2 separate regions of the Homo sapiens genome follow, and region 1 is linked to region 2. Evidence: promoter capture Hi-C in human tissues and cell types (Jung and others, 2019). All regions are on one chromosome and are shown on one strand. The core of a region is centred on a gene start or on the middle of the fragment in contact, and the rest is flanking DNA. Distances in the headings are between cores, read along the strand shown.

Region 1 (4,969 bases), core at 1,923-4,422, 40 kb before region 2:
TTTTAACAGGATATTCCTGGTTTAGGGTTGCTTATGGTAAACAATTATAGAATCTACAGATTCATGAAGCATGACTGCAGACTCTGTCATATGTGCTATGCAAATATATAAGTATAAATGAGGATATTAAATAACTGAGATGTTCCCTGTTGTGTAAGGCAGCCTTGTGCACTTCATTAAAGATCTCATGTATTTTTCTTGGTCATAGAGCATGACCGATCTGTGAAGGAAGCACCTAGGACCTGGGACCTGGTGTATCCAGACATTTTCCTTCTTCATCTGGATACTTACTTGTATTTTTGACATTGTTTAGGAAAGTTAGACACTGGGTAATATATCTGACTTGTGTGTCACTTGGATTTGACAATATGATCCTTTGTGTTGCCTCACATATAAAGGACTCTAAATTGCTCCTGTGCTCTATGAAGAAGATGCAAAGGTGCTAAAAGGGCCAGGGAACTACCAAAGACTTTACACAAAAAAAACAAAAAAAGTCACAGTGTTCAGAAAATAAATGTTTGGTCCAATGTTGGTGAACTTATTGTGATCCAATAATTTTTGTAGAATAAAAGCTCCATAAGAATGGGGATTCATTATTCTGTTTTGTCACTCTATTTCTAATATATTTACTGAGCGCATAGTAAATTCTCAGTAAATAAAAATAAGACATATAAAATAATATTTATCAATAATAAATATAGATAATTAAATGTATAAATAAGTAATTGCATATATCATAATTTAAATAGTCTTTTCAGGTAATTCATCCTCTGCTTGGATGTCTCAGGGATGTGCTCAAATATGTCCCAGGTACGGCGCTCTCATGCTCCTCTCTAGACGGTATCAATGTACATGGAGTAGGAGTTTATGTAACCATGCAATAAAAGAGAGATTAAGAAGGTCATTGAATTAACATTGGAATTATCTGAATCTCCTGAGATCTCTGCTGTGGTTAGAGTAAGAGAGACCTCAAATATCAATATGCTAGCATCTAAAGTAATTTAGAAACTTATTTCTTTATAAGTGTTTCTAGCATTGATAATCATTGTCATGCTAAAGATGTGAAGAAATTCAGCCTCAGGACTCAATCCTGACAAGTGGCTTCTTTCTTCTAGGATTTACCTTTCTATTTCTTCCTGCGTAATACACTATGGGATTAGGACTTGAATTCAGAAGGCTGCAAAAGAATACGTTTTGAGGGCAAAACGAAATCAAATATTTAATATTTGCAAAATATTTTCTCTCTTATCTAAAGTCACAAAGTCCCTCCTGCTTACCCTGATTTGCTTTCTCCTCTCCTACATATTTCTGCTGCCTCCCTTTATACAGCAGCAGAAAAAGGTAGGCAATTCCCATTTGGAGATCCAAAGATTTCAAAGAGAAGGGGATGGTAATGGACGCAGCCTTGAAAAAGAGAAGTGGTGAATGAAGACATGGAGAAAAGGTTTGAGGAAGAGAAAATCAATGAGAATACATTCTTCTCTAGTCAAAGAAATAGCCCAGCAGGTACACTGTTCAGTGAGTCTCCCATTTCAGGTAAATGGGTTTAGACAAAGGACACCATTTAACTATACCTCCCAGATCTCCTCCCAGATCTTTGACCACTGACAGATATTTGAGTCATCCGCATGGTGAGCAACAGAAAGACAGGAGAGCAAGTTACAAAGATTGTAGAGTGATCAGAATTGACTAGAAGTGCCAGATGAAGTTCAATTCTTCAAAAGGAGAAGAAAATGGGTTACTTAGCTGAAATATAATGTAGAAAGGCAATGAATTCAATGAAATAAGTAAGGTCAGCAAGGCCTTGGAAAGAAAGAGAGAAAATTAGGAAGGGGAAAATTGCGTTTATATTCTTATGAGAACAAAAAGGAAAGAAAAAACACAGTGGGAGTTTAATCAAGTAGTTAAGAGCTTTTTGCATACAGTTTTGAAAAGAGAGAAAATATGTGCACTTAGAGACTGGGTCATATAGGGACTAGTTACACCCATTCTAGAAAGTGCCCAGGAAAAGTTTGACAGGATTTTTGATGCAGAAAGATGAAGCTCTGGAGATAAAAAATAATTCAGCTTTATTAACCCTCCCACTGAGAAGGATGCTTTTGTGAGAGACAGATGACACAACTGCTGAGAAAATCTTTGCTGGCCACCTAAATGTATGTCTAGGAAACCAAAGATCAGCACAATTTAGGAAAATTAACAGCATGAAATAGAAGGCTTAATCAGAACAAATGACAAGGAAGAGAACAGATAATTTAGGGAACAAAAGAAAAAAAAATTCTGATGGATGTCCTCAGAAGGATTATAGAGGATGCTGCATCCGAAAACAAAATCAAGCTTCTATAAAAAGAAGCAATCAGAAAACAACAAAAAGTTTGAGAACTGTTCAAAATAGATCGAAAAGTTTTTTTTAATCAATGAAAGGGCTGGATATTAGATTTAAATAATGATAGGCCAAACGAATAACCCAAAGATGAGTCAAGAAGGTGCTCTAAAAATTTTAGGAAATGAAAGAACTTGCCATATCTTCCTAAAAAGAGATATTGGTGGAAACAGATAAAAAGATAAGAGAGCAGAAAATCAAACAAATAAGAAAAGAAGGTCTCCTTGACTTGAAGAAAAACATCCTTCTTCAGACGGAAAGGAACTCTTTGGATTGAGCAAAATAACTAAGAAAAGACCAGCACTTATACAGACCCTGGAAAAGTATTGCAACCCCTAAAACAAAACCTTCTACAACTTATTTATAAAGAAGTTCAAAAAACAGGTGGACTTCAGACATCTTATCTTTCATAATAGACACAAGAAGAAAATGAAGTATGTTTTCAAAATCTCAAAAGACAGGTAAAAGAAGAACTCAGAGTTCATTATTCAGGCAAATTCTCATTTAAATATGAGGGAACAATAAATACATTTTTAGATGTCTATGGTTGCTGGTACTGTGCTATGTTTGGGCCTTCTCTAAAGATTTGCTCAAGTTGGTACTACCAAATATGAACAAAATAAGTTCAAAAACTGGAAGGACGTGATAGATAAGAAGCAGTCATTAGAAAAGAGATAGTGGTTATTAAAGGAAATTACAGTTATGTCCAAAGAGTTTTAAATTTAGGAGGGCACACATTTCCTGAACCAAAGAGTTAATATTAGCTGTGAAGGGTGATATATTTTATCTGTGTGGATCAGAAGCAGCTTGGGTAGCTCTGGACATGAAAGGTAAGTGGGTGGATTTCAATAGGTGTTACAGGTCTCTCGGTGAAGATGAGCTGTAAACAAAGTATAGAGACAGGAAAGAAAAAAGTGATTTTAGGGAACGGCAAATGGATCAGTCACACTTGAATCACTGTTGGAAAATAGTGAGAGATCAGAATGAAAATATGATAGGAATACAGTGATCTTGATATTAAAATTAAAGTGAACAAAATAAGATGTTGCTTATTAGTATTTAATACCTTTTTGTATTAAAGCAAAACAAGGCAAAATCAAAACTAAAAGCAATCTCAAAATTATACCAACTGTTCTTCTTTTTTATTATTTCTGTACCTTAACTAATGCTTTCCTTCTGTGAGAGTACAACTACAATTACACTAATAAATATTATGCTTTTTATTCCATATATTTGTTCTTACATATAATTTTTTATTTTGTCTTTGTGGTGGTCTGGTTATAGTCCATAAACTAATCATAAGGGTCAGATAGTAGAGAATGAAACTTTCTTTACCTATGTGTCATAATTCAAATATTGTTAAAGTTTATTGTGAGCATTCTAATAATGAATAGTATATGTTGTCTCTAAATATTAATGAAAAGATAAAGGAACAGATGTGAAAGTAAAAGAGAGTTTTAACAAAGCACTTTAGCTGGCATATGCTACCCCAAATTTGATCTTACCTATATGAAGAATATGTGTATAGCATATTCTTAACATATTATCATATTAACATAATAATAACATATTAAATTGAACAGTTTTTTGTTTCTTTATACTATTATCCCAAAAAATTCACCAGTGAAATCTTTCTAAAGGTGTCTTTAGTAATGTATGCAAGCTAGTCATTGTCCAATAATGAGTTTGATTCAATTACATTGGTAATAGCAGTCTTTCTTCTTAAAGCTGTGTGCATCCATGTATGAACACCAAGAATAGCTATCAAAGACTACCACAATTATCACTATGAGTGGCACTACAAAGAACACCACAAAAAATTGTTTACAAGCTTTCAGATCTACAATAGAGAGGACAGAATTTTTAAATAAAATGCCTTGCCAAATTTCAGTTTTCGTATTTAAAAAAAATTTTAAAAGGGAGGGAGGGAGGGAGGAAAACAGACAGGGAAGGAGGGAGGAAAAGAAAGAGGGAGGGAGGAAGGGTAAAAGAAAGGGACACAAAAACTTTTTTTGTTTTTTAATTTATTTTGCCATTGATGTCAAACATTTTTCAAATTATAGATTTTTCTCACCTTTAAGTGACAAAAAGCCAAAATAGGGTGTAAAAATTATATTTCGTAAAGGAAAATATGTTTCTTTGACCTTAGTTTCTGGGTCAGCTTGGGGCCTCTGAGAAGTTGATACTAAGTTGGGACTTGTTATGCAAATCCCATTTATGGAGGGAAAGGCTTGTAAAGGATAAAGAGGAGAGGGAGTAAAGGAAGGTGTAGATAGCCTTCAGATAGATGTGTGCGTAATGCCTGATACTAGACACTAGGAGAAACAAACAAACAAACAAACAAAAAAGAGAAGGCTGTTGAATAGGAAGAACTTCATATTACAATGCAGTTCTGAGAAAGTCTTGGTGAGGTTTTGAGCAAAAGTTGCCCTATAGAGGAGTCCTAGGTACAGGCAGAAATGAGCCAGCTCTGCTATTGCTGCTTTGCACAGCCAATGGCCAGGAGTTACCCAGTGGCAGTGTGGCCTCAGCAGTGTGGACTTGAGTACTCTGCTGAAGGTGGAGAAGTAGCCAATGGAGGCTGTCAGC
Region 2 (5,686 bases), core at 576-3,075:
GTAAAGTGACAAAACTAATTTTATTACTTAATATTTTATACATTGTATGTCTATAGGAACACATTCTAAATACGAGTTTTTCTTTTATTTAAATTACAGATACACTTTGGACTAAGTATAAAGGAAAAAATTGATGGTTCAGATATTAAGAATTCAAAATTAAATTTATCAAACTTTTCACTAAAATACTTCTCGTGATTTTTCTCTCAAAATTGAGAAGCCAGTTTATAATCAGTTGTAACCTTACTTGAATTTCTTCCACTCTAACTGTAAATCCCACTTTAAAGTAGAGCTAACAAAAATGGCTGAGAGCAGCAATTCAGAAGTAACTCGGCCTTAACAAAAAATGAAGCGTCGGACCTTAAGCCACTGCAGGTTCTTGCTCCACTCAATGAACACAATCCTCTCTCACCTTCTGTTAGGAAGGAATATTAATTAAAGACCTTCATATGCACCTATATAAAAATTATAAGCCATATTGTCTATAGTTATACAATCGTATATATTCATACATACACAAAAATGCATGGACTTTTAAACATACGAAGGATGAGAATAGCTTGAGTTTTATTACTCATTACATCACACACAAAAGCAGTTACGGGTATTAATATACACTATGTCATTTTTTTTCGGCATTTGTTACAAAAGATGTTAGCATTTGGTTCCCTCATAAGAGACTGCATTATTTTTGTCATTTAAAAAAAAATCAGTTGTAATTATTCGTGCTTTTATACTGTAAAACTACAAATTCACTTTGGAAGGTAGAAGATCGAACTATGTAATGATTATTGCAAAAACCTGGACTTACTTTCTGAGCAACTTATTCATTTCTGTTTGATTTATTTATTCAGTCTCTATTACCTAACCTCAACAGTTGAGACATTAAGTTCACATTCTGAGGAAACGTAGGTAACAACATTGAGGCTGCAGATTCAGTGCTGAACAGTCCCGTCTAAGAAATGTAACAGCAAGAAAAGTGTAGGAGTGATAGTCGAAAGTGGGTCTCAAAAACTGGTTATTATGATAACGTGCTGCTAACCAATTGTGTGACTGTAACTTAACAGTCACACATTAAATGAACTTCGTGGGGTTCTTCTGTCCACATTTGTTAAAAAAGGGGCGGGGGAATAAAATCATGTTTTCAAACTTTCATACTAAAACATTTTAATATTTTTACAATCTCGATATTACTGCAGAACCCCACGTCCACAACTTCCCATAATCCTTTATTATTGTGTAGTCCCTCCCTTTAGGGAACTAGTTATAAGCACTCAAAACCTTAGCTGCTTACTAATATTGTATCATTTTAAATAATCTAATTAACAATTTAATTGTTCTGTGAAAGTTCTAAATGAAAAGGGCCATTCTTAGCTCCCTTGGGAAATGTGCCTCAAAGGTATCAGGGTCTCTCTTGCTAATCTTCAGTTACTTGAACCCTTTCCTAGAATGTTTTAAAACCTTCTTTTAAAGAAAATAAATGAAACTACAAATCCCAGGAGCCAAAGCTGAAAACAGACATTTCCTCTCCTGCCCCTCCCGCCCCCTTTAAATCTAGGTGTCTAGTAAGCTAAAACTCCAGTGAGGCATCCTGAAATATGCCTGAAAGAAACGTCGCCTGTTTCTTCCCTGTTTTTAGCCGGGCGTTCACTGGGCTCCTTTAAATCGGTGCTGAGAGCGAGGAAGGATCCGGAGCGACGCAGGATGGGGTGGGCGTGGGCCGCGGGCATCACCTGTTCCGAGAGGCGCCTGCGCACTGAGAGGGCGCGGGCGAGGAGGCGGTGCGCGGTGGGAGGGGCGGACGGCGCCCGGCTGGCACCGCTCAGATCTGCTTCTCCCCGGCTCGGGGCGCCGAGGCGGCGTCCGGGAGGTGTCTTCTGCAAAGGTTGCCTGGCGCTGTCCAACATGGAGGAGGCACCGGCAGCGGGCGTTACCTGCGAGCGGGACTAACCCCTGCCTGGCGTTCCGGGCGGCAGTGCCTGGTCCAGAGTCCAGGGACTCGGCTGCCTGCACGCCCCGAGGCGGACCCCGGCTCTGACTGCTCCCCTGGCCGCGGGCTTCTCGACTGGGACGCGGCGCGAGGAGGGAGCGCGGCGGCCCCGAGTCTCCCTGAGCCATGGGCAACGAGGCGAGCTTGGAAGGGGAAGGGCTCCCCGAAGGGCTGGCGGCGGCCGCAGCGGCTGGAGGAGGAGCTAGCGGGGCGGGGAGCCCCTCTCACACCGCGATCCCGGCCGGCATGGAGGCGGATTTGAGCCAGCTGAGCGAAGAGGAGAGGAGACAGATCGCCGCTGTCATGTCAAGGGCGCAGGGGCTGCCCAAGGGAAGCGTCCCCCCGGCCGCTGCGGAGTCGCCTTCCATGCACAGGCATGCACAGCATGATGTATATGTCCGGGCATATATGTACAGCTTCCCGTGCACATATGTGCCAGCCTGTATGTGCCAGCACGGCGGTACATATATGTCGCCTCCGTTCATTTTATTCTCCCCAGTGGGGTGGCCATAGAGAGATCCTAAGCCTTGTGATGGGCGGAATAAAAATGATGCATTGTAGAGTTTCTGGTGGGATAGTCAAGGGTTACATTCTTGGAACTGTGATTTTAGGTTGTGATTTTTGGCCTTTTGTAGCCCTTCCCCTCTAGGATGGCGTGGAGAGACGCCCTCCAGTGTTTTACTAATCTGGAAGTCTTCCATTAATACAACACGGACGTGTTAGGAAATGGATAGAGCTGGGTGTTTACCTGTCTCTGTTTAAACCTCTTGGCCATTGCGGGTCTTTTTCTCTGTGAATGATGTCTAAATATTTCTGTAACTTTAATCCCCTTGTAGGTGATTTGTCCTCTCTTGCCACCCCACCCCCAGAGGAGAGCAGAAGCTGTTTAGGTAGAAGGAATAGAATGAATATACCTTTTATATTCATTGAGGAACCCTAAAATATGTGTGGCATTAAACAGATGGTTTGGTCACAGCAGAGCAGGTGCTGTACATATATTTCTAAATTAGCATATGCTATTTTTAAGCCACTGCTCTGTTTTATGCAAAAGTGGCCTTCAGTTTAGGGAAGAACATGTGAATTTTATTACCTTAGAAAATAATTTTCAATACATACTTTTAAAAACAAAGCAAATAAATGGCAACTTGCATAGGCAAGTATAAGAGCTAATCAGTAATATGAATGTTTTCATTTCCGCCTGTAACTCTCCATTTTCCTTCATCCCAATAGATTAGTTGTTTTCTAATTAGAGTACTGAGAGGGGTATAATCATTGTGCCTGCCTTGCCTTTCTTACTGTAAACAAACCCTTTAACTTTGCACCCTCTAGTAGAGAACAGTTTTCTGTCCGTGGTTCTGAAACAATTCCTCTTTTATGACAACTGAAGGCAAACCTACAATTTTTCATTTGAGATACTGTAAGCACGAAAGACCTGGATATATAGGTGTAGATCCTTATCCTCCACTTTATAAAATAAAAAAAAAATTAACTTAGTCACTATCACGTAAGCATAATTTTGCCAAATAATTATAGGAGAAATGTAAAATGTTTTATGGATAGTGACAATATTTTCACATAAAATCTTAAATGCTTAAAATCTACCAGGTAAAAAGTCTGTTTATCTTGAAACTACTAGTACTAGTGAAAACTAGCCCCTTTATGTTAAATATGTTTTTCTGTGTTTTTAAACTAGTAATCCATGGGGCTATTTGGAAAAAGTCTTTCTTGTTCTCTTATCCAGTTTATGATATGTACTGTTTTCCTCTACTTGATGAAAACTTGACAAGAAAAAAAATTTAGTGTTCATTCAGTAGACTTTCACAGGATAATAACAAGGTATGATACTTTTATTAGCCTTTTAGAACTGTATGCCAGATCTTTTATATTTTTTCCTAAGAGGCACAAGCAACAGGTCTATCATGCTGGTTACCAATACCAGTTACAGTGAGATCTTTGATTTCTAGATTTCTAACTTTTCTTCTGTTTAGAAGGTGGCTGAGAAACATTATTTCCACCTATAAAACTGTTGCTTCATGCACTATTTGCATCAGATAGTATACTTTTAAAGCTCTCTATTGATAATTTTATTATGATGGAAATCTTATCAATAGTTAGTGTATGGCCCAAACAGTATTGGTGAAAACTTCATCCAAATACTAAAAAATAAATAATAATTTTCTGACCTTTGCAACTTACTCTTACATTTTACTGAAAGATTTCTATAAAAGGTACATAACTTTTTAAAAGTTATTTTCCCTATATATGGTTACCAAAGAAACATTTGGTTTTTCACTTAGACTTTTAAAGTTATAGAGTTATGTAAATTTAATTAATATAGGACGGCATACACAAATTATTTGAAGTTTTAAGCATTTAAGTGGTGTGAATTGAACATAGAATTTTAAAAATAAAGATTGACAGCATGGGTTTTTATCCTATTGATTTTGACCAACTCATAGCAAATTACAAATACTTCTCAATCAATGTGTCTCATGTTCCTTGCCTTTAAATAAGGCTACTAATACCTATCTCACCTGTCTTAGTCCATTGAGGATCAATTAAAAGTTGAGATGAATGTTTTTGTTTGAGTTGTAATTTACACAAACCCTACAAATGTAAAGAGTGGCAATATCGGTATCAGCAATGGGTGACACTGTCACCGATGGCTACAGACAAATTGTTGAATTGTACATTGTTTTTGGGTTATTTTGATGTGTCAGTTTTCTTTTACATGTGGAAAAATCAGTTCAATGGGGTGTAAACCACCTCCTCTGCCCACAAACCAGGAGTGAGGATACCAGATTTCTGTGACTAACTAGTTTTATGACCTTGAATTAGTCACTTTGCTTCTCTTAGTCCCTATATCCTGGGACTTAGAGCATAAATGCATAGATATTCATTTATTTATATAATATATAAAAATTAACAGATAGTCCCAAAGTTGCTTATATTTCTAATATTATAAAATTTTATGTGACTCAGCACTGTCAAGTGTCATTGTTTGTTGTGTTCCATTTATGAAAAATTTTATTATCTCAGATGCTTTTACATTCCTACATTTTGCATATATGTTTTCCTCATCTTAGGGGAAATATTTTGTTTTCTGCTAACATTTGAAAGAAAAATTCTAATCCAAGGATGACAATAGTAAAATGAAAAGGGAGGTGTAGTACTAAATATAAGTAGTTACAAGCTAGCAGTAGAAGACAGGTTACAAATGAAATGCTCATGGATTTTTTGTTCATTGTAGACCCAGAGAAGTGCAATTTCATTACTTTTTCTACTCTTTCTATTTACAGTTACAGATATATCATATGAGAAGGGCTTTATTGAAAAAAATTCTCTGATTAGTAGAATATTTAATAAGAATTCTGACTGAACTGATTATTTTCTTTACTACTTTCAGCCTTCCCTACTGGGCTTCTTCCTAAAGGTGCAGGCCAAATCCAGGTTCTAAAGAGAATATGAAATTTATCCATTTATATCTCAAGGCCTGTAGAAGAATTTTAAGTGAAAGCAATTCAAGAAACATTAAAGTAAAACGAATACATGATATATTTATTCCTTGGTTCACTCATTGTTAATCATCCACTTATTCATTAATTCATCAAATATTAATGCTCATCTACTAGTTGCCAGACTTGGTTCTAATGATGCAAAGATAAGTGAAATATATCCTTTCTCTCTAGGAGTTCA

What was found. Contacts are between HindIII fragments. The study calls those that stand out against the background at their distance.
Region 1: a contact is called between a fragment that was not itself captured here and the fragment with the promoter of PCLO in region 2, in 1 of the 25 tissues and cell types used here (hippocampus).

The regions. Positions count from the first base shown.
Region 1 is chr7:83,201,498-83,206,466 of GRCh38, reverse strand. No RefSeq gene overlaps it. Among named protein-coding and RNA genes, the nearest start is that of PCLO, 41 kb to the right of the region's middle. RefSeq lists an enhancer at 1,217-1,839. The HindIII fragment of the contact is 6,136 bases long and covers 105-4,969 here.
Region 2 is chr7:83,159,023-83,164,708 of GRCh38, reverse strand. PCLO (piccolo presynaptic cytomatrix protein) reads left to right here and starts at 1,825. Exons shown (of 25, transcript NM_033026.6): 1 at 1,825-2,364. The coding sequence starts at 2,117. RefSeq lists an enhancer at 1,903-1,972 and a silencer at 2,093-2,182. The HindIII fragment of the contact is 31,773 bases long and covers 1-5,686 here.